Linked DNA regions of Homo sapiens: regions 1, 2, 3 and 4 are each linked to region 5. Evidence: promoter capture Hi-C in 16 types of primary human blood cells and fetal thymus (Javierre and others, 2016). All regions are on one chromosome and are shown on one strand. Each heading gives the region's core, a stretch centred on a gene start or on the middle of the fragment in contact. The rest is flanking DNA. Distances are from core to core; before and after follow the strand shown. Region 1 overlaps DDX59 (DEAD-box helicase 59). Region 2 has its middle 2.4 kb from the start of KIF14. Region 3 overlaps KIF14 (kinesin family member 14). Region 4 holds the start of LOC107985459 (a long non-coding RNA gene). Region 5 holds the start of KIF21B (kinesin family member 21B).

Region 1 (3,791 bases), core at 48-2,547, 360 kb after region 5:
TTCACCATGTTGGCCAGGCTGGTCTCAAACTCCTGAGCTCAGGTGATCCACCTGCCTCGGCCTCCCAAAGCACACATTTTTTAAAAAAACAATCTCAAACTTAAAGAAAGGTGGTAAGTACAGTAAATGGAACTTTTTTTTCCTCCCAAACCTTCTGGAAGTAACTTGCTGACTTGATGCCCTATCACCCCCATATACTTTACAGTATGATTGCTACAAACAAGGACATTATCTTACATAACTGTAATACAATTATGGAATCAGGAAATTAACATTGTGTATTAGTCCATGCTTGCACTGCTATAAAGAAATACCTGAGACTAATTTATAAAGAAAAGAACTTTAATTGGCTCATGGTTCTGCAGGCTGTACAGGAAGCATAGTGGCTTCTGCCTCTAAGGAGGCCTCAGGAAGCTTCCAATCATGGCAGAAGGCAGAGGGGGTGCGAGGAGCTTCACGTGGCCAGAGCAGGAGGAAGAAAGAGAGTGGGGAGGTGCTACACACTTTTAAACAACTAGATCTCACAAGAACTATCATGATGACAGCACCAAGGGGAAGGGTGTTAAACCATGAGAAATAGCCCCCATGATCCAATCACCTCCCTCCAGATCCCACCTCCAACATTGGGGATTACAGTTCGACATGCAATTTGGGTGGGGACACAGATCCAAACAGTATCACGTTGATAGAGTAGATTACATCAGGAATTAATATTGGTATCATCTACTCCTCAGTCCCCATTCACATTTTTATAATTGTTCCATCACTTTTTATAGCACAAGAATCCAGTTCAGAATCACATGTTGCATTTAGTTGTTGTGTCTTTGTCATCTCCTTCAATTTGAAACAGCTCTTCCATCTTTCCTTTTTTCCTCATAATCTTGGCCCTTTTAAGGTTTACAAGCCACTTACTTTGAAGAACATCCCTCATTTGATTAGATTCAAGTTACATGTCTTTGACAGGAATATCACAGAAGAGATGCTTTGTTTTTTTCATTGCATCCTTTTAGGTTGCACAGAGTATCAGTATGTCCTTTTCCTAGTGATAGGATCTGTAAAGTAATTGTCAAGTTTATTTTTTTCCCCTTTGAGTTTAGTAAATATTTTGGGGAGAGTACTTTGAGGTGTACTTTGAAATGTAAATTTCTCATTCTTCACCACACTTTGAATTTATTTATATATTTATTTATATCTGTATGGACTCACAGCTTCCTGTTATTCAAAGGTTTACAATCTATTATCATTATTTGTTTTGATACTCCAGTTGATCTCTATCTGGCCAGTGGAAGCACCTTCAAGTTGGTTTCTATGTCCTTTGTTCAGATCTCCATCATTCTTTGAGTCTTCCTTACCTTCTATCTAAAGAAGATGTTCCATACTTACATTTTTCTTTCCCTGCCCCAGCCCTGGAATCATGCCTTCTCCAAGGAGCCCTGGTTTATTTTACTAGAGGATAGTATTTAAAAAGAAAGATCTGGGCTATGTGCGTTGATTGCTATTGGACTATCACTGCTTCTAGGACTTCCCAGTGGATAGAGCTAGGGAATACAGTCATCGCTGGGCGTCTGCCAGGGATTGGTTCCAGGATCCCCTGCGTATGTACCAAAATCTTTGCAGACTTGAATCTTGCAGTTGGCCCTGCTGAACTCGAGTATTGTTGGTCCGTGTTTGGTTGAAATTGGTATGTTTCAGTGGACTCACACAGTTGAAATCCATGTTGTTCAAGGGTCAGCTGTATATCTAAGTGTGTGTTTTTCTGTATCTATATTTATTAGAAACCATGAGACTATGAGTTCATGTTGATACTTCCAATTCCAATTCAATGCAACAGGATTCATTCATGTTTGTAACTGACAGAAACCTGCCACTCATTTTCATTTATGTATTTGTTTATTTATTTGACCAATCCTCCTCTATGTAGCCTACCTCCCGCCATCAGCACCGCCCTGCCCACAGCGATGCCCTCCTCACCAGACTCCACCCTGCACTCTCCTCAGCCCCTCAGGCTGCAGCACCCCATGCAGGGCCGCCTTTCTGTGGAGGCTCCTGCTTGCCCACCTGTCACTCCCACCCCTCTCACCAGCCTGAGCTCTCTCCCAGGTGCCCTCTGAGAAAACATAACCAAAACCTCTGTTCAGCAAAGTTGCCCTCCAAGAGCAAGGACAACATAAAAAGCTTTTCAGATAAACAAAACTGAGAAAGTTAATACCAGTACACCATGTAAGAGAACTTTAAAACTAAGGTAGTCTACAGATAAAGAAGATTGTGCCAGAAAGGAGGGTGTGGGATGGAAGAAATAATGGTGGCCAAGGAAAATAGTAAGCATGTGGGTAAATCTCAGGAAACATTGAATGAAACAGTAATCATAATGAACAACCTGTAGGTTTCAAAATACAATAGAAGTTAAATACTGGCCAACAGTAGCTTAGAAGCACAGGGGAGATGTGATTGGTATTAAAGCATTTTTCCTTCTTGTTTAAAAAAAGGTAAAAATAAGCTGAATGCAGTAGCTTACACTTGTAATCCCAGCACTTTGGGAGGCCAAGGCGGGAGGATTACTTGAGCCCAGGAGTTTGAGACCAGCCTGGGTAGCATAGAGACCTTGTCTCTGCAAAAAAACAAAAAATTAGCCAGGTGTGGTGGCATGCCTGTAATCCTAGTTACATGGGAGGCTGAGGCAGGAAGACCCCTGGAGCTGGGGAAGTTGAGGCTACAGTGAGCCACGCACTCCCTGCTGGGTGACAGAGCGAGATTATATCAACAACAACAACAAAAAGCCCCCATTGTTAGCCACTAACATGTTATAAAATTATTAAGAGCCTTAAGCAACCTTAGAAATCACTTTGCCCAACCTCTTAATTTAAAAATGAAATAAAAAGCCCAAAGATGTTACGGAATTTTCACTTGTTTATAGAACCATAGCAATCAAACTGCCTACAAGGTCCTTCCTGGTGCCTTGGTGCCTGCCTCAGCCTGCCCCATTCTCCCCATTCCTTACCATTTAGAAACTTCACTGGCCTCCCAGCCTCAGGAATGTCACAGATACTTTTCTCCTTAATCACTCCTCACCTTGCTCATGCCCACTCATCCTTTAGGTTTGACCTGTGTGTTGGGTAGGACTGGATAGGTCCCTCCAGTTATGGCTTAGTGTATTTATCTCATGAGTACTTTCTGGTTTTATCTGTTTCTTCCTTTGTATTACAAGTTTCATGAGAGCAGAGACTATGTCTGGCTTATTCATCACTGAATTCTGGGTGCTTAACACAGTGTCTGGTACATATTAGTTGCTCAATCAATATGGAATGAATGAATGAAAATAGCTATTACTGATTTTTTTAATTTGCTTTTTCTCTTTTATTTAGGTTATCATAGCAACCCCTGGGCGACTTCTGGATATAATAAAGCAGAGCTCTGTAGAACTCTGTGGTGTAAAGATTGTGGTAGTAGATGAAGTAAGTAGTGGTATTTAAAAAACAGTTACATGATTTTACACAATTTATGGAAAGTATAGTTATATAATTTCATTGTATGTTCAGTACCTTTTCTCTCTCTCAAAAAAAACCTCAGGGACTTTTAAAGCATTGCAGCAGGTTCCTGTGTAGCACTGAAGCTAACATAATGTGTACTACACTAAAATTAAACCAGAGCTGTCTTTTCCTAATTGACAGAAAACACAAATTCAATATGTACTCTATTCTCAATGGTAAGTTGTTTTTTTTTAAGCATTTGATGCTTACTATTATTTGTTTACAAAAATAGTCAGTGTCAAGTAATGAGACAGGGTCTTGCTC
Region 2 (3,840 bases), core at 418-2,917, 400 kb after region 5:
AGGAATCCCCAGCATTTTCAACAGGATGTCAGAATGACCTTGGGCTATGTTGGCAAAGCACAATGGGAAGAAGACAACCAATTGAAGGTCAAACTAGGCCTTAAAAAAAATTGTTCTTCCTAAATGAAACTTTATGTAAGACCCAAGCTTCCTTTATGTAAAAATAGGATACTCACTAGGCTTTGGGGCTGACAATGGTTTTTAAATCTTGCTAATCTTCCCTGGAATGAAACCAGCATGACTCAAAGAGAAAAAGAGAGTCTATAATATTTTCTAATCCCTGAGTTCTTTTCTTTATATATTAAAAAGGATTACTAGGCTGGGTGTGGTGGCTCACGCCTGTAATCCCAGCACTTTGGGAGGCCGAGGGGAGTGGATCACCTGAGTTCGAGACCAGCCTAACCAACATGGAGAAACCCTGTCTCTACTAAAAATACAAAATTAGCCAGGCGTGGTGGCGCATGCCTGTAATCCCAGCTACTCAGGAGGCTGCGGCAGGAGAATTGCTTGAACTCGGGAGGCAGAGCCAAGATCGCACCACTGCACTCCAGCCTGGGCAACAAGAGTGAAACTCTGTCTCAAAATAATATTAATGATAATAATAATAATAATAATAGGGATTACTTGCATAATTGTTCTTTTAAAATTATTGGCAGTATTGCTGAATGTATTTAGATTTTTTCACCAAGTGACAACAACTGAATTCATAAAGATTCATCAACAAGACCTGATAAAAAAAAATGTAAGCATATTATAGTGGATACTTCCAAGACTCTTGGTCTAACATGTATTAGAAAGCAGAAGGAGCCCAGGCACAGGGGCTCCCGCCGGTAATCCCAAAGCTTTGGGAAGCCAAGGCAGGTGGATCGCTTGAGCTCAGGAGTTAGAGACCAGCCTGGGCAACATGGTGAAATCCCGTCACCACAAAAAAATGCAAAAATTAACTGGGCGTGGTGGCATGCACCTGTAGTCCCAGCTACTCTGGAGGCTGAGGTGAGGGGAATCACCTGAGCCGGGGGAATCACCTGAGCCCAGGGAAGTTGAGGCTGCTGTGAGCCATGGTCATGACACTGCCCTCCAGCCTGGACAACAGATTGAGACCCTGTCTCAAAAAAAAAAAAAAAAAAAGAAAAAAGAAAAGAAAGAAAAAGAAAATTAGGGCCGGGCGCGGTGGCTCACGCCTGTAATCCCAACACTTTGGGAGGCCGAGGCGGGTGGATCACGAGGTCAGGAGATCGAGATCATCCTGGCTAACATGGTGAAACCCTGTCTCTACTAAAAATACAAAAAATTAGCCAGGCGTGGTGGCGCATGCCTATAGTCCCAGCTGCTCAGGAGGCTGAGGCAGGAGAATGGCGTGAACCCGGGAGGCAGAGCTTGCTGTGAGCCAAGATGGCGCCACTGCACTCTAGCCTGGGCGACAGAGCAAGACTCCGTCTCAAAATAATAATAATAATAATAATAAAAATAAAAAAAAGAAAATTAGAAGGAAAATACAAAATATGACAGATTTTAAAATACCTTTAGGTTCATGCAGTTTGTTTAACTCTTGTCCTTATTATAAAGCCATAGACATTTGAGATCCAGAAAGAATCTGTAAAAACTGTTGTACAGGGTAGTGGTACAGAGCACAGGAAATGGTGTTTAATTTCCTGAGTTCTGAACCTAACTCTGTGACCCAGTAGTTGTATAATGTCAGGCAAGCTATTTAACTCCTTGGAAACCCACTTTCCCTCATGTGTAAAACAGCGATAATCATAATACCTATCTTATAAGGTTATGGAGTTAGGTTATTTATCTTGCACAAAGAAAGGACTCAATCCTTGCTGGTTATGATGATTTAATCCAGCACTTTCGTTTCACAAGCGAGGGATCTACAGTAAGGAGACTTATCTCTGGTCTCACCATTAGGTTGAGACAGATCCTCAGCTAGAATCCAAAGTGCTCTTACCACTTTTCCACAACTTTTGCTTTGTCCTTTGCATTTTAAAATTATTAATTTCCTATTGCACCTTTTCGTTATAGACCCCAAGTGCAACTAGATACAAACACCAGGAAAATACATACCACATTTTAATAATTTAAAAATTGTGAAATTTGCTAAATTGTAATAGATTTAATCTTAGGCCGGGCGCAGTGGCTCACGCCTGTAATCCCAGCACTTTGGGGGGCTGAGGTAGGTGGATCACCTAAGGTCGAGAGTTCGAGACCAGCTTGACCAACATGGAGAAACCCCTTCTCTACTAAAAATACAAAATTAGCTGGGGTTGTGGTGCACGCCTGTAATCCCATCTACTCGGGAGGCTGAGGCAGGAGAATCGCTTGAACCTGGGAGACGGACGTTGCGGTGAGCCAAGATCAAGCCATTGCACTCCAGCCTGGGCAACTAGAGCGAAACTCCGTCTCAAAAAAAAAAAATTTAATCTTAAGAGATCATTAATTAGCATGAGTTAATCATTTTTCTTTAAATCTTACATAATCCAGAAAGCTTCAAACGTGCCAGTTTTACTTCGACTCTTTCCACGTTTTCTTTCTGTTTGTCTCCCTCTGGTGGATTTAAAAAAATACTTGCTTTATTCTATTTATGAGCTTATTTTCCTTTTAAAATTGAAAAAGGTCTTTATGTCTTCTGTCATGTTTAATATATATTTCCAGTTACATTTTATTTTTATTATTTTGAATTATACATATGTTTAAAATTTTTATGTATTTGAGTTTGTCTGTCTTTTCTTTGACATATCTTGCTTTGTTTCTAAATTGAATGATCATTTTCCCATAGATGTGATAACTTTTTTTTTTTTTTTTCTTGAGACGGAGTTTCTCTCTTGTCCCCCAGGCTGGAGTGCAATGGCGCGATCTCGGCTCACTGCAACCTCCGCCTACCCGGTTCACGTGATTCTCCTGCCTCAGCCTCCTGAGTAACGGGGATTACAGGGGCCCGCCACCACGGCTGCCTAATTTTTGTATTTTTAGGAGAGACGGGGTTTCACCATGTTAGCCAGGCTGGTTTTAAACTCCTGACTGCAAGTGATCCGCCTGCCTTGGTCTCCCAAAGTGCTAAGATTACAGGCGTGAGCCACCGCACCTGGCCCTGATAAATATTATATTCTATTTTCTGATAGTTTCCTTATACCTTAATTTTAATTGAGTTTTAGAATGATTTTTAGAGTAAGATTTAGAATGAGTACTTTATCATCTGTTTGGTTGGTCTATATAATTGGAGCTACTTATGGTCTCTATCTCAGTGAATACTTCTTCAATATCTCTGTACTTTTTGCCTGTTTAAAAAACATTGTTGCTTTACAATATCTATTTATCTAGTCTTTCTCATTTATTTGGTTATTTTTCAGAATGTATTTGTAATATTTTTTCAGATTTCAAAATCTTATGGGGGCTGGGCGGCGCAGTGGCTCACGCCTGGCAGCTTACAAGGTCAGGAATTCGAGACCAGCCTGGCCAATATGGTGAAACCCCGTCTCTACTAAAAATACAAAAATTAGCTGGGCGTGGTGGTGCGCGCCTGTAATCCCAGCTACTCCAGAGGCTGAGGCAGGAGAATCGCTTGAACCAGGGAGGCGGAGGTTGCAGGGGCCACTGCACTCCAGCCTGGGCTGCAGAGCGAGACTCCGTCTCAAAAAAGAAAAAAAAAATTAAAAAAAGGGAACTTTTACTGAAACGGAGTTACATTGTACGGCGGCAAGAACCTTCAAGTTCTAGTTATGCCACTGCTAATTGTCTGATCTTTCACAAGTTTAACTCTAAACCTCAGTTCCTCATCTGTAAACGAGGGATAACATTAATATTTATCTCACAAGATTTTCAGGACTGTTTAAAAATTCA
Region 3 (4,144 bases), core at 738-3,237, 420 kb after region 5:
GAGGCTGAGGGGGGCAGACTGCCAGAGCTCAGGAGTTCAAGACCAGCCTGGACAACACAGTGAAACCCTGTCTCTACTAAAATACAAAAAATTAGCCGGGTGTGGCGGATTGCACCTATAGTCCCAGCTTCTCCAGAGGCTGAGGCAGGAGAATTGCTTGAACCTGGGAGGCAGGTTGCAGTGAGCCGAGATCAAGCCACTGTACTCCAGCCTGGGCGACAGAGTGAGACTTCGTCTCCAAAAAAAAAAAAAAGAAAAGAAGCGGAACATTATCACTAGTAGAAATTAAATTAGTTATCAGATTTAACCTCTTTATTTTAATGAAGAATTGTATAAAACTAAAGATAAAATATTTGTTCTGAGATTTAGTTGGACCATGTAAGTTGAACACCAGATCCCTAATAGTCTATAAGCCAAAACATAGTAAAACTTTTTAAAATTATATTTTTATTATAGAATATGTATTTCAGTGGATTATTTAGCAAATTCATACCTTGTAGATAATCTGTGAAATAGAAAGTTTCACAATTATATAATCTTTTTTAAAAACTGCTATTCAAATTTAAAATTTTTAATTTTGCAATGGACCTTGGAGCACAATAAACAAAAATCTAAAGAAGACGGCTGGGCGTGTTGGCTCACACCTGTAATCACAGCACTTTGGGAGGTCAAGGCAGGTGGATCACTAGGTCAAGAGATGGAGACCATCCTGGCCAACATGGTGAAACCCTGTCTCTACTAAAAATACAAAAATTAGCTTGGCATGGTGGCGCGTGCCTGTAGTCCCAGCTACTCAGGAGGCTGATGCAGGAGAATCGCTTGAACCCGGGGGCAGAGGTTTCAGTGAGCCGAGATTTCACCACCGCACTCCAGCCTGGCGACAGAGCAAGACTCCATTTCAAGAAAAAAAAGGAAGTCAGCTGTCTTCTTCACTTGCCCATGTTTGTGCAGTTTACTATTGGCAACATCAAGAAACTTAAACAAAACTTGACATTTGCTTCTATGATTTCTATATGTTTAAAGCTTCTGGTCACAAAGTTGAAAATGTATAATGTAACAATAAAGAAAAATTTTAATGTCTGAAATTTAACGAATATGTTTTAGAGAGCATTTAAAAGTATATAAATCATAGCTACTGCAAGATTTAACATTCAAATGTCTTACTGAAAAACTAGGAAGACAAGCTGGGTACGGTGGCTGACGCCTGCAATCCCAGTACTTTGGGAGGCTGAGGTGGGCGGATCACTTGAGGTCAGGAGTTCCCGACCAGCCTAGCCAACATGGTGAAACTCCTTCTCTACTGAAAATACAAAAGTTAGCTGGTGTGGTGGCACTGTCTTGTAATCTCAGCTACTCAGAAGGCCGAGGTAGGAGAATCGCTTGAACCCAGGAGGCAGAGGTTGCACTGAGCCAAGATTGCACCACTGTACTCCAGCCTGGGCCACAGAGCAGGACTCTGTCTCAAAACAGACAAACAAACAAACAAAAAACTAGTAAGACATCTGATGCTAAAATATATTGTTCTAATTATTGTCTATTAGACAATTCTAATAGCAGTTTTTTAAGAATAAAAAAACTAGTAAGACTTGATGCTACAATATATTGTTGCATATTGTGCTACTATGAACAGTTTTTTATATTGAAGCTGTTTCCTAATGCCTTACAGATTTGTTTTTGTGAGAGTTTTTGTGGTTTTTTTTTTTCCTGGATAAAATAAAGACAAATCTCTTACCTTAAACTCAAGATGTAGAAAAAGTGATCATTTCAAGTTACATGAAATATTTGTCATACTCCTAATGATGCATGTATTTGCTTCTTCTAGCTGAGAGTGAGGGAACATCCTGTTTATGGACCATATGTTGAAGCACTGTCAATGTAAGTATTTGGCTCAGCAAGGGCAAAGAGGATAAAACAAATGAATAGAGTGAATGTTACTCTCCCATAATCTTTATTGTATTCTCATTGGCCTTCCTAACTTTGAAACCCTGGGTAACTATTTATTTAGCCTTCTACCCTTGATATTGTCCAATTAGGTTTTCCCTCTCTTTCCATAGAGTGTTAGTTACTTGTTTTAATACTTGCATGTGTCTTTCATAGTACCTGTAAAGTGTCTGCCATGGAGTATTCATTATACTATGAAGTAAATATTTGCTTTTTCTTTCTTTTACCCCTTCCTTTCACTATTAATTTAATCTTCCCTCTCAACCTGCTTTTTATACCTATGACTCTAAGCTAGACAGGGAAGAGGGTACTAAGAAGAGTTAAGAGTTTGATGCATGCTAGGAGTCATTTACTTTTTTTTCCAACACTGCAAATGCTTTCTTAAAGGAAAGGAAAAGTTATTAAGTATTAACTCAGCTGCATTTAATACATCTGGGATTGTATTGGGACCCATATACACCCACATATAAATATACCTATGCATATACATATGTGTTAAAGTATATCTTTTGGTATTGTGACTTAGACTTGAATATTAAGATGCTAAGGTGCTTCATTGTATTAAGAAAAATCATACTTTTTGTTAAAATTAAAGCATTATTTTATTTCCTGTCCTTCAAGAATGGGGAAAATAAAAGATTCTGGGAGAATCAATAAAATAATATTCATGAATTAGTCCATTGTGATCTTCAGCGTAAATATGTAATTGAAATGTTATTGTTTTATGAGAACAAGAGTATAATCATCAGTAAAATTGATTTTGTCTTTTCACTTCTTAAAAATAGGAACATTGTCAGTTCTTACGCTGATATCCAGGTAAGATTGATTTTGTTTTCTTTTCACTAGATAGAAAGAGCATAATCCTAAATATTTATAAGAATATTTTTTCTTAATTGCTGTTTTACAAATAAAAGGTTAGTTTCCTTAATTTATCACAAACCGATTTTGTTAAGTTTTAATCAAAATAATTGCTCTTCTTTATTAAAAATGTTGACCTTCATGTAAGCTTAGAGTTATGGAAACAGCCTTTTAAAGTTATTATTTCCTGCCTCAGATTTCTATGACAGAAAAAAAGGCAATGGGAATACAAATTATTAAAAGATAAATATTTACTCATTTCATTTTATAAATTAATTACAAATGTGTATATGTTATCTCTCTTAATTTTTATATCATTGAGTTACAGTCTGCTGATCTGAATTACAAATGTGTATATGTTGTCTCTCTTAATTTTTATATCATTGAGTTACAGTCTGCTGATCTGATCTTCCTTCCTTTTTTCTTATAAGAGTTGGCTAGAATTGGGAAATAAACAAAGAGCTACTGCTGCTACTGGTATGAATGATAAAAGTTCCCGATCTCATTCAGTTTTCACCCTGGTGATGACCCAGACCAAGGTATTTTTTTTAAAAGTTCCCGATCTCTTTCAGTTTTCACCCTGGTGATAACCCAGACCAAGGTATTTTTTTAAAAAGTTCCCGATCTCATTCAGTTTTCACCCTGGTGATCACCCAGACCAAGGTATTTTTTTTCCACAGGCAAGATAGTAAATACATTTAAGTTTCATGTTTTTCTTATTGTCTTCTTTAAATCAAAAGGTAAAAGTACAGTCATATAAATATATAAACTTAATTTGATTGTAGGAAATATGCCTTAGTTTCAATGACTTTTGGTCAATGACCAAATGACTTATGGCAGTATACCGTTTACCAGATTTTTAAATCAATAATAGATGCTTGTTATCATGATAACATTGATATGATCATATCAATATATGATAGTATATTTTCATATATAGTAATTATGCAGAGTATTTAGAAAAACATCAGAAAGTAAAAGATTTTTTAAAATTTAGCCATAGGTTCCACCATTCAGATAAACCCCTCTAAACATTTTGGTATATAGTCTTTCAATTTTTTTACCATCACAATTAAATTCACTTAAAATCACACTGTTAAAATCTGTAACAATTTTATGTTATTAAAATTTTTATAAAATAATTTTTAATAGCTATATAATATTCCATTAACTATTACAGTTCCTCAAGTTTTTCTCTACTGTTGGACATTTATATTATTTTTAAATGTTTTGCTATTATAATGCTGGGATAAGCAACATCTTTGTGCATTAAACTTTTTCTTTATTTATTGTTATTTCCTTAATATAACTGAGTGGTTATGGATTTTAATCTCTTTGAAGTAAT
Region 4 (3,802 bases), core at 1,252-3,751, 490 kb after region 5:
CTGTTGGGGCTAAGACCAGAAGTCAGTAGATATACAAGAGGAGACAGTGGTGGTCATCAAGTGTTGTCCTCCCACAAACTCCAATAGACTATTCTCCAGTCACACAGGACCAAACTTACAGAGTTCATAAAAATGAACCTTTGGCAAGGATGTTATCCCAGCACTTGAAATAGTTCACATACATATCTGGGGGTCAGGAAGTCTTCCCTTGAGGCTCTGTTGAAGTCTAAGCTTATTAAACAACCACGAAATATTAGAAACCAGTACCAAGATCCAACTAGGGAGCAGTGTGGGATCCACAAAGTTTGGGACAATTGGCTGTGTTTTGTAAAGCAGGAACAAGTTATCCATATTGGTGTCAACGTGACCATGGATTAAAAGTCTTGAGTATGGTGGCTCACGCCTGTAATCCCAGCACTGTGGGAGGCCGAGGCGGGTGGATCCTTGAGACCAGGAGTTTGAGACCTGCCTGGCCAACATGGTGAAACCCCATCTCTACTAAAAATACAAAAATTAGCCGGGCGTGGTGGTGGGCACCTGTAATCCCAGCTACTTGGGAGGCTGAGGCAGGAGAATCCCTTGAACCTGAAAGGTGGAGGTTGCAGTGAGCTGATATTGCACCACTGCACTCCAGCCTGGGTGACAGAGTGAAACTCTGTCTCAAAAAAAAAAGTGTCTTCAGTATGATAAACCCACACAGGAAGAATTGATTAACTGTTGTTAATTAGATGACAAGAACAACAAAGTCGAGTGGGCTTTGTGGAGTGTGCTACCTGAGAGTCCATTTGGTCAGGGACCTAACTGGCCTGATGTGATCCCATAGTGAGGGAGGGAGCAGGGGAAATGACTGCCTAGTCCTCACTCTCCTGCCTCCCTCCAGACTCCCCCTGGGGCCAAATCCAACAAGAAGCCAGACAAGGCAAGGGAACCCCCTGGAATGGGCCATATGGTTCAGCCTCCCCAGCATACAGCCAAGTGGAAGAGGATTTAGTTTAGACCCAGAAAAGCAAGCAATTTCAAGGTCCTATTGGGAGTGTGGAGGAAATGCCCTTCCCAGTCTCTTCCCCCATTGGAGGGGGAATTCAAGAATTAGGATAGAGAGGCCAGGCATGGTGGCTCACGCCTGTAATCCCAGCACTTTGGGAGGCTGAGGCGGGCAGATCACTTGAGGTCAGGAGTTTGAGATTAGCCTGGCCAACATGGTGAAACCCTGTCTCTATTAAAAATATAAAAATTAGCCAGGCGTGGTGGCGGATGCCTGTAATCCCAGCTATTTGGGAGGCTGAGGCAGGAGAATTGCTTGAACCTGGGAGGCGGAGGTTGCAGTGAGCTGAGATCGTGCCACTGCACTCCAGCCTGAGCAACAAGAGTAAAATCTCCATCTCAAAAAAAAAAAAAAAAAAGAAAAAAGAAAAAAAAGAATTAGGATAGAGAGATTGGGCATAGTGCCTGCCTTCCAGTGTGAAATTAATGGAATAGGACTTTGTAAGGAACGCTAGGTGGGATAGGGGACAAATGTTTCATTCACGTAATAAAGTCAAAGTCATGTTAATAGAGGAGTTGATCTTGAATGAAGACTTGATGAGGCTTATTAATAGGATTGACTTTCCCTTTTCCTAAGTGATAATCAAAGAAAAACAAATGGAGGGGAGGGAATCTACCAAACTGCAACAAGGAGAAAAGGAATCACCCCACATCATTTCTTCCCTGCCCCTTTCCCCTCCCTCTTGGGACTAGAAGCTGCTCCATCTCCTCTACCCAGCAGCGAAACAGAGAGGGAGGCTGGGGCCCACCCTCCCACCAGAGGCTGTGAAAACATGCAATACCCGTGAAACCTGTTCACTTCTGGGGGAAAGAAAGTCTGCAGAGAGCGGAAGGAGACAGGTCTTCAGAAAGAGAGGGCATAAAGGGAAAAGGCCCTTTTGTCTGTTGCAGGAGGAGGGAGACTGTGTGAAAGTGACTTAGCACTGTGCCCAGGTGCAAAGTTAGTGCCAAATAAGTGTTAACTGTGGCTTTCTTTCTTCTCTCTCCTCTCTCTCTCTCTCTCACACACACACACACACATGCAGGCACAAGCAGATTCTACTACAAATACCTGTCTTCTGCTATAGGACCATACTCTCACCTGACATCATACTCAGGTAAGTGACATGGGCGAGGTGTGGGAGACTTTAGTAGTGTCCTCTCTGAGATCTCCCCGGGATAGGGCATGGTAAGGCAGCATAGATGCCGATCTCACCAGCCATTACAAAATGCAAAATTTTGCTTCTTTGGAGGTTTTGGCTTAATGTGGGCTCAGTTCCACTGCACCTCTATGGAGTGCAGAGGATGTGGTGGTGTGGCCTCGATGCTTTGAACTAGCTTGAATGCAGGAGCCCAGGGCCCCGAGGAAGGATCACAGCTGCACTGTGGGGAAGTGGGGGGTGCAGCTGCTTAGCTGAGCAGAATGGGAGTGGCTGCAACAGCCTGTAAATGTGCTTGATTTTAGGGTCTTTATCCAAATAAAATATGGCTTGCTGACAGGTTAGGGAACACACCTCACTTCACACATAAACCAGCACTGACATGTTCATTTATTTCTGTAAGGTTTGCAGTCACCTAATGGGGTCGGGTTTACAGGGTGGCCCTTTAGCCCCCACATTTTTTTTCCCTATCAAGTCAAGAAGACTGAAATTCCTGTTGCAAACACCAAAGCCTCTAGGAGAGGCAGAAAAATGACATAGAGCACAGAGCCAACCAATGCAATCCACAAAAATGAGAGTGTATATGCTTAACCATTCCGGAAATATGATAAACACATTTATTTTATTTATTTATTTTTTGAGACAGAGTCTCACTTTGTTGCCCCGGCTGGAGTGCAGTGGCACGATCTTGGCTCGCTGCAACCTCTGCCCCCCGGCTTCAAGTGATTCTCCTGCCTCAGCCTCCTGAGTAGCTGGGATTACAGGTGTGCACCACCACGCCCAGCTAATTTTTGTATTTTTAGTAGAGACGGGGTTTTACCATATTGGCCAGGCTGGTCTCGAACTCCTGACTTCAAGTGATCTGCCTGCCTCAGCTTCCCAAAGTGTTGGGATTACAGGTGTGAACCACCATACCTGGTGGATAAGCACATTTAAAGAGATGCCCACACACTCACATACTGCCTGACATTGTTCATTAATCTTTACAGGAGCCCCTTAAGCTCACCATTTTATACACGGAGAAGAGGTTAAAATTCACACAGCTAACAAGGGCCAGGGCTGAGATTTGAACCTAGTGCACTCTGGTGAGAGGTCTCACCTTCAAACATCCTACCTCGCTGCTGGAGGTGACCACTTAGCAATATTTGCAAAAGGTGCTACAGTTTAGTAAAACAGAAGTGCTTCCTGATTACCTTCCATTCTTGTTAGTCATTTAGGGGTCTGCCAGCTTTTATCACTGGTTAAAATGGTAACCACTTTTCATTCTAAATGAATCCTGCCCTCTAATTAGGAGCTTTAGTAACCTTAGAAGGTGATCTAATGCAAGTAAAATTTAAAAAGATTTTTCACACTTCACTTTTAAAATATGAAATCATGCAGGCAGCTTTGAACCAGTTTTATAACTGTTAGGTTTCCCCCCAGCTGTATAATACCCAGGAAATCAGGCCACCTCACCTTTCTGAGCTTTCAGAACAAACAAAAACTCCAGTAAATCTGGCTTGCTTTATGTTAGTGGCTCTAATTACAACTGAGGGGTCCTGTTCCCCTCTTGCAGCCTCTTTGAGACCTTATGTTAATGGGAGAGCTTCACAGAGTCACTCGTGGTGTTTTCAGTTATG
Region 5 (4,024 bases), core at 686-3,185:
GAAAGTAGCTCTTCAGAATGCAACATTACCATCCGGGAAGGCTGAACCTGGAGTCCGCTGTGCCTAGAGGAAAAGCCTGGGCCGGCCTAGCTCCCTTCTGCCTGGACATCATCATCCCTTCCACCTTGGTGGTCATCTGGGAAGCCTGGAATAAGATATACATGTCCAAATCTGGAGTCTGTTGCTTATATGCTGGAATTCATACATGTGAGGCTCAGTTTCCCCATCTGCAAAATTTAAAAAGAATAAAAAAGCCTAGCTTACAAGGTTATAGGGAAAAAATGAGAATATGTGCATAAAATACCTTGTGTAGGTGGTCCATATGTGTTAGTCTCCTCCCCACGAATTATTTTGGTTGGAAGATGGGGAGGAATGTTGCAGGATATGACTGCAACATTCTGCTAACCTCCTGGTCCAGGAGAGGTGATCCCCTGGCCCCAGGGAGAGCTTCCTCTAGATTCAAATGCTAATAAAAGGTCCAGGATACCACCAAGACCTCTTCTCCAGCCCCCATCATGGGGGCACTGCTGGCGGTGCTCCTCCTGTTTGCCATGGGGATGAAAAGGATGTGTTGATTGGCCCTTGAAATTTGCCCTTGAAATTATCTTTGGTTTTGATTTGACCTTAATAGGTCAAGCCAAACAGGGATCTGAGCTACTGCATGAAGCAGTTATTGGCGGGGAGGGGGGTGTGAGTGGAGGAGGGAAGGGGAGGAAGATGGTACCAACAGATGCATCCTCAGACCCCAGTCCACACCCTTGCCAAAATCTCTGACATGGTTTCATCATCTGAGGGTAATGTAAGAGGCCTGGAGTCAGACTCCCCTTCCTCCCCTCCCCCAGAGATCCCCATCCACATCTGGGGCTGCAGCTGGGTCCTCCTCTTGGGCCCTTTCCAGGGGAGGGAGCTGGGTGAAGTGAGGGCAGCTGGTGAGGGGCCCTGTGAATGGCCCCAATGTTGGGAGGCAGGGGGCAGGGAAGAGGCGTCTGGGCTCAGAGGGAGGGAGATGGACTGGGAAGGGAATTGTGACTTTGCAGCACTGGTCTCCTCCTCCATCCAGGCCCAGCGTTAAAGTCTCCATGGTCCTCCTTGTCCTTTATACCCATTCCTGCAGGCAGCTGCCCTCCTTCCCTTCCCCACCCACTTCACCGCCCAGCCTCTCTACCCAGGTGCTCGGAACTGAGGGCCCCCTTTGTTCCCTCCTTTCCCCCAGGGCAGCTCAGGCCTCCCACACTGACCCTCTGGCCCCACAGCCACAACAAGCAGAGTGTGAGCCAGGCCCAGTGGGGTCATCTGTGGGTCATAAAGGTCAATGGGACAGTCGTCTAGCAGTAGGGAGGGGCTAGTCTTGGGCTAGGAGCCTGGCCAGGAATCAACTAAAACATGAGCTTTAAGATGCTGCAGGGTGGAGGTGGGGGAAATTTTAGTTAGGGGCTAGCAAGAACTCCCTTCGAGAAGGGTTGGCGAATTTACTGGAATAAATGCAGAAGGGAAGCTTTCCTGGCTCTTTTGAACTATAAACCGTCAATCGCTGTGGGATCCCCGGGAGACCAGGGTTCTTACCATGCTTACCCACGAACTCGCTCTGTAACCTTCGGTAGTTCCCCTCTTTGAATCTCAGTTTCTTCATTTATGAAATGAGGGTCCCATTGAAGCCGAGGTTCTGCTACTCCAGGAGCCGAGGTTCTAACGTGGTCTGCGTCCAGCGCCCCCACCCCTACTCCCACCCCTACCCCCACCCCCACCCTTCAATCCCGCCCCCTACCCCCAGCCACCCCGTGGCCGCGAGCCAAGAGGTCCCTTTAAAGGCGCGAGTCCCGCCCCCACTGCTCATTAGGGCTTTCGATTGGCGGCTCCTGGGCGGGGCGGGGCCCGGCCTGGGCTCGGGGCTGGCTCGGGGCGGGCTCGGGGCCGGATCGGCCCCCGCCCCCTTTGTTCGCGCTGCGGCGGGAGGTGGCTGCCGGGTGGGAGGTGTGTGCGCGTGTGCCGCGCCGTAGGGAGCGGCGGGTCGCGCCGCCGGCTGTCAGCTAGCTCCGCGCCGCCGCCCGATGGCGCGAGGAGGCGCGCGGGCCCAGCCCCGGGGGGCCGGCCGCGGGTGAGCCCCTCGGCCTGCCGCCCGCGAGCATGTCACCTCCAGCCGCCGCCGCCGCAGCCTCCGCCAGCCGCGCCCGCGCCCCCGCCTCCCGCAGCCGCAGCCGCTGCCTCGGGCATTGGCCCCCAGACCCCCGCCTCTGATCCACGCCCAGACCCTAGCTCCAGAGGGCCATGGCCGGCCAGGGGGACTGCTGCGTCAAGGTGGCCGTCAGGTAGGGACCCGGGGCGGGGAAGGGGGCGCGCGGAGAAGCCTCGGGCTTTGTCTCGCGTGGGCTTTGGGCGGGGGGCGCGAGCACCGCTTGGGCTGGAGCCTGCACTCCCGGAGGAGGGGCCGGCGTGGGACGGGATGGAGGGCGCCGCGCGCTGGCCAGTCTGCCGCAGGGGAGCGGCGACCCCGCCGACTACTGGAAGGTGGCTTTGTTTGGGTGGTAATTTTGGGCCCCTCTTGGGAGCCCTTAATGATCAGAAAATCGAATAAACAAGGAAATCCGGTATTTCACACCCAGCTCTGGCCCAGGCCGGAGCGTCTGTGCGTTTCCTCTTCGCCTCCCCACGAGGCTGCTGTCTCATACGGGGATACCAGAGAGGGAAATTTCCCCTCATCCATGCGAGTCAGCTAGTTATGTGCTCTTGGTCCAGCTAGCAAAGGCAGCACACCCACCCTGGGAGCCAGATCTGCAGACAAAGATCGGGTGCGGGGACCAACGGAAAAGCTGGGATGATGCCTTGGCCTTCTGTGGGAAGTCAATGGCTTTGGGGGAGAATCCTACCAGTCCTGTCCCAAGAGGAGATGGGCCTAGGAAGGGAGGAAGAGGTGTATCTGAGGTGCTTCTCTCTGAGAGGGCAGGAGGGTGTGATGCAGATGCCCCATCCTCAGGCACTCAGATAAAATTGAGCAGGGGAGGGTTGCCTAGACTTATCTGGGGTTCCATTCTCAACAGCTCCGGGACTTGAGCCGGCAGAAATGAGACAGGGAGAGGACATGGCTGGGTGGGTTCTATTGGGAGGGGTACACAAAGGTGCAGGAGCAGGAAATGCTGTGAAATTGAGCCATCTGTGTTCTTTGTGCTGGGTGGAGATGCTTCACACCTCACCACTTCTCCCAGTTTTTGCTTTGGGTTTTTCTCTTTGAGAGGGGTGTCTTGGCGGCAGAGTGCCAATCTGGAGCTGCTCACCAAGGTAGGGATGTGGCAAGAACATCTATCTCTGCCCCAGCCCTGTATGATGGAGGGGGCGGGGGATTGTCCAGGTCTAGGGTAGGTCTCTCAGGTCTCTAGATCCCTTGGGTCATATGTGACCCAGATTCCAGGGGTCCTAGGAGGTTGCTCCTAGACAGAGTCAGAGATGGCAATGAAAAAGCTTTCTTCTTCCTGCCCCAGGGCAGATGCCCCTTGCCACGGCCACCTGGCCAGGCCTCTGCAGCCCAAAGAGGAGCTGACACTGATCAGTGCTTGGGTGAAGGGAAGGAGATTGAGGCACCCCCACCCATGCACCCTAGGCAGCACTCAAGAATCACTTGAGCACAGCTTTCCTGGCCCTGAGCAGCCAGAGACAAAGAGGAGCCCTGCAGGTGCCTGGTGGGCTGACTGGGGCGGGGCCAGGCTGCTGCTGGGGCTGACATTGCAGCAGGATCTTGTGGAGGTCGAGGGAGGGGTGCATGGCTGGGGGGTGGGAGTGAGAAATGTAAATATGGCATCTGCAGCAGATTGGGAGAGTCCGAGAACACCATAAAAGGGAAATGAAGCTCTGGCCCCCACCCATTGTGAATGAGGGCTGGGAAGGAAGGGGCTTGGGGGTGCCCTTTCCACAGGGGGTTTCCTTTAGATTCCATCTTGCTGGAGAGAGCTAAACAAAGGCCCCCTACCTCTGTTCAGGTCTCCAGGCTGGACTGGGGCTGAAAAGATGTGGGACTCCCACCCGGGGAGCCTCA

What was found. Contacts are between HindIII fragments. The CHiCAGO score rates a contact against its expected background, and 5 or more counts as called.
Region 1: a contact is called between a fragment that was not itself captured here and the fragment with the promoter of KIF21B in region 5, in 1 of 17 cell types (naive CD8 T cells). The highest score is 5.1, in naive CD8 T cells.
Region 2: a fragment that was not itself captured here is called in contact with the fragment with the promoter of KIF21B in region 5 in 4 of 17 cell types (naive CD4 T cells, naive CD8 T cells, fetal thymus and 1 more); the score reaches 9.0 in naive CD4 T cells.
Region 3: a contact is called between a fragment that was not itself captured here and the fragment with the promoter of KIF21B in region 5, in 1 of 17 cell types (total B cells). The highest score is 5.0, in total B cells.
Region 4: a fragment that was not itself captured here is called in contact with the fragment with the promoter of KIF21B in region 5 in 1 of 17 cell types (fetal thymus); the score reaches 6.6 in fetal thymus.

The regions. Positions count from the first base shown.
Region 1 is chr1:200,658,688-200,662,478 of GRCh38, reverse strand. It overlaps DDX59 (DEAD-box helicase 59), which reads left to right. Exons shown (of 8, transcript NM_001031725.6): 4 at 3,363-3,452. Among named protein-coding and RNA genes, the nearest start is that of DDX59-AS1, 8.9 kb to the left of the region's middle. The HindIII fragment of the contact is 1,761 bases long and covers 417-2,177 here.
Region 2 is chr1:200,621,184-200,625,023 of GRCh38, reverse strand. No RefSeq gene overlaps it. Among named protein-coding and RNA genes, the nearest start is that of KIF14, 2.4 kb to the right of the region's middle. The HindIII fragment of the contact is 1,646 bases long and covers 845-2,490 here.
Region 3 is chr1:200,604,477-200,608,620 of GRCh38, reverse strand. KIF14 (kinesin family member 14) reads left to right here. Exons shown (of 30, transcript NM_014875.3): 6 at 1,823-1,875; 7 at 2,727-2,757; 8 at 3,231-3,338. Among named protein-coding and RNA genes, the nearest start is that of KIF14, 14 kb to the left of the region's middle. The HindIII fragment of the contact is 1,924 bases long and covers 1,026-2,949 here.
Region 4 is chr1:200,529,283-200,533,084 of GRCh38, reverse strand. LOC107985459 (a long non-coding RNA gene) reads left to right here and starts at 2,046. Exons shown (of 3, transcript XR_001737816.3): 1 at 2,046-2,141. The HindIII fragment of the contact is 4,535 bases long and covers 234-3,802 here.
Region 5 is chr1:201,021,625-201,025,648 of GRCh38, reverse strand. It overlaps KIF21B (kinesin family member 21B), which reads left to right and starts at 1,935. Exons shown (of 35, transcript NM_001252102.2): 1 at 1,935-2,306. The coding sequence starts at 2,266. It overlaps LOC101929305 (a long non-coding RNA gene), which reads right to left and starts at 1,700. Exons shown (of 4, transcript NR_188464.1): 1 at 1,564-1,700; 2 at 30-145. RefSeq lists silencers at 1,210-1,367, 1,719-2,078, 2,479-2,528 and an enhancer at 3,133-3,740. The HindIII fragment of the contact is 1,958 bases long and covers 1,498-3,455 here.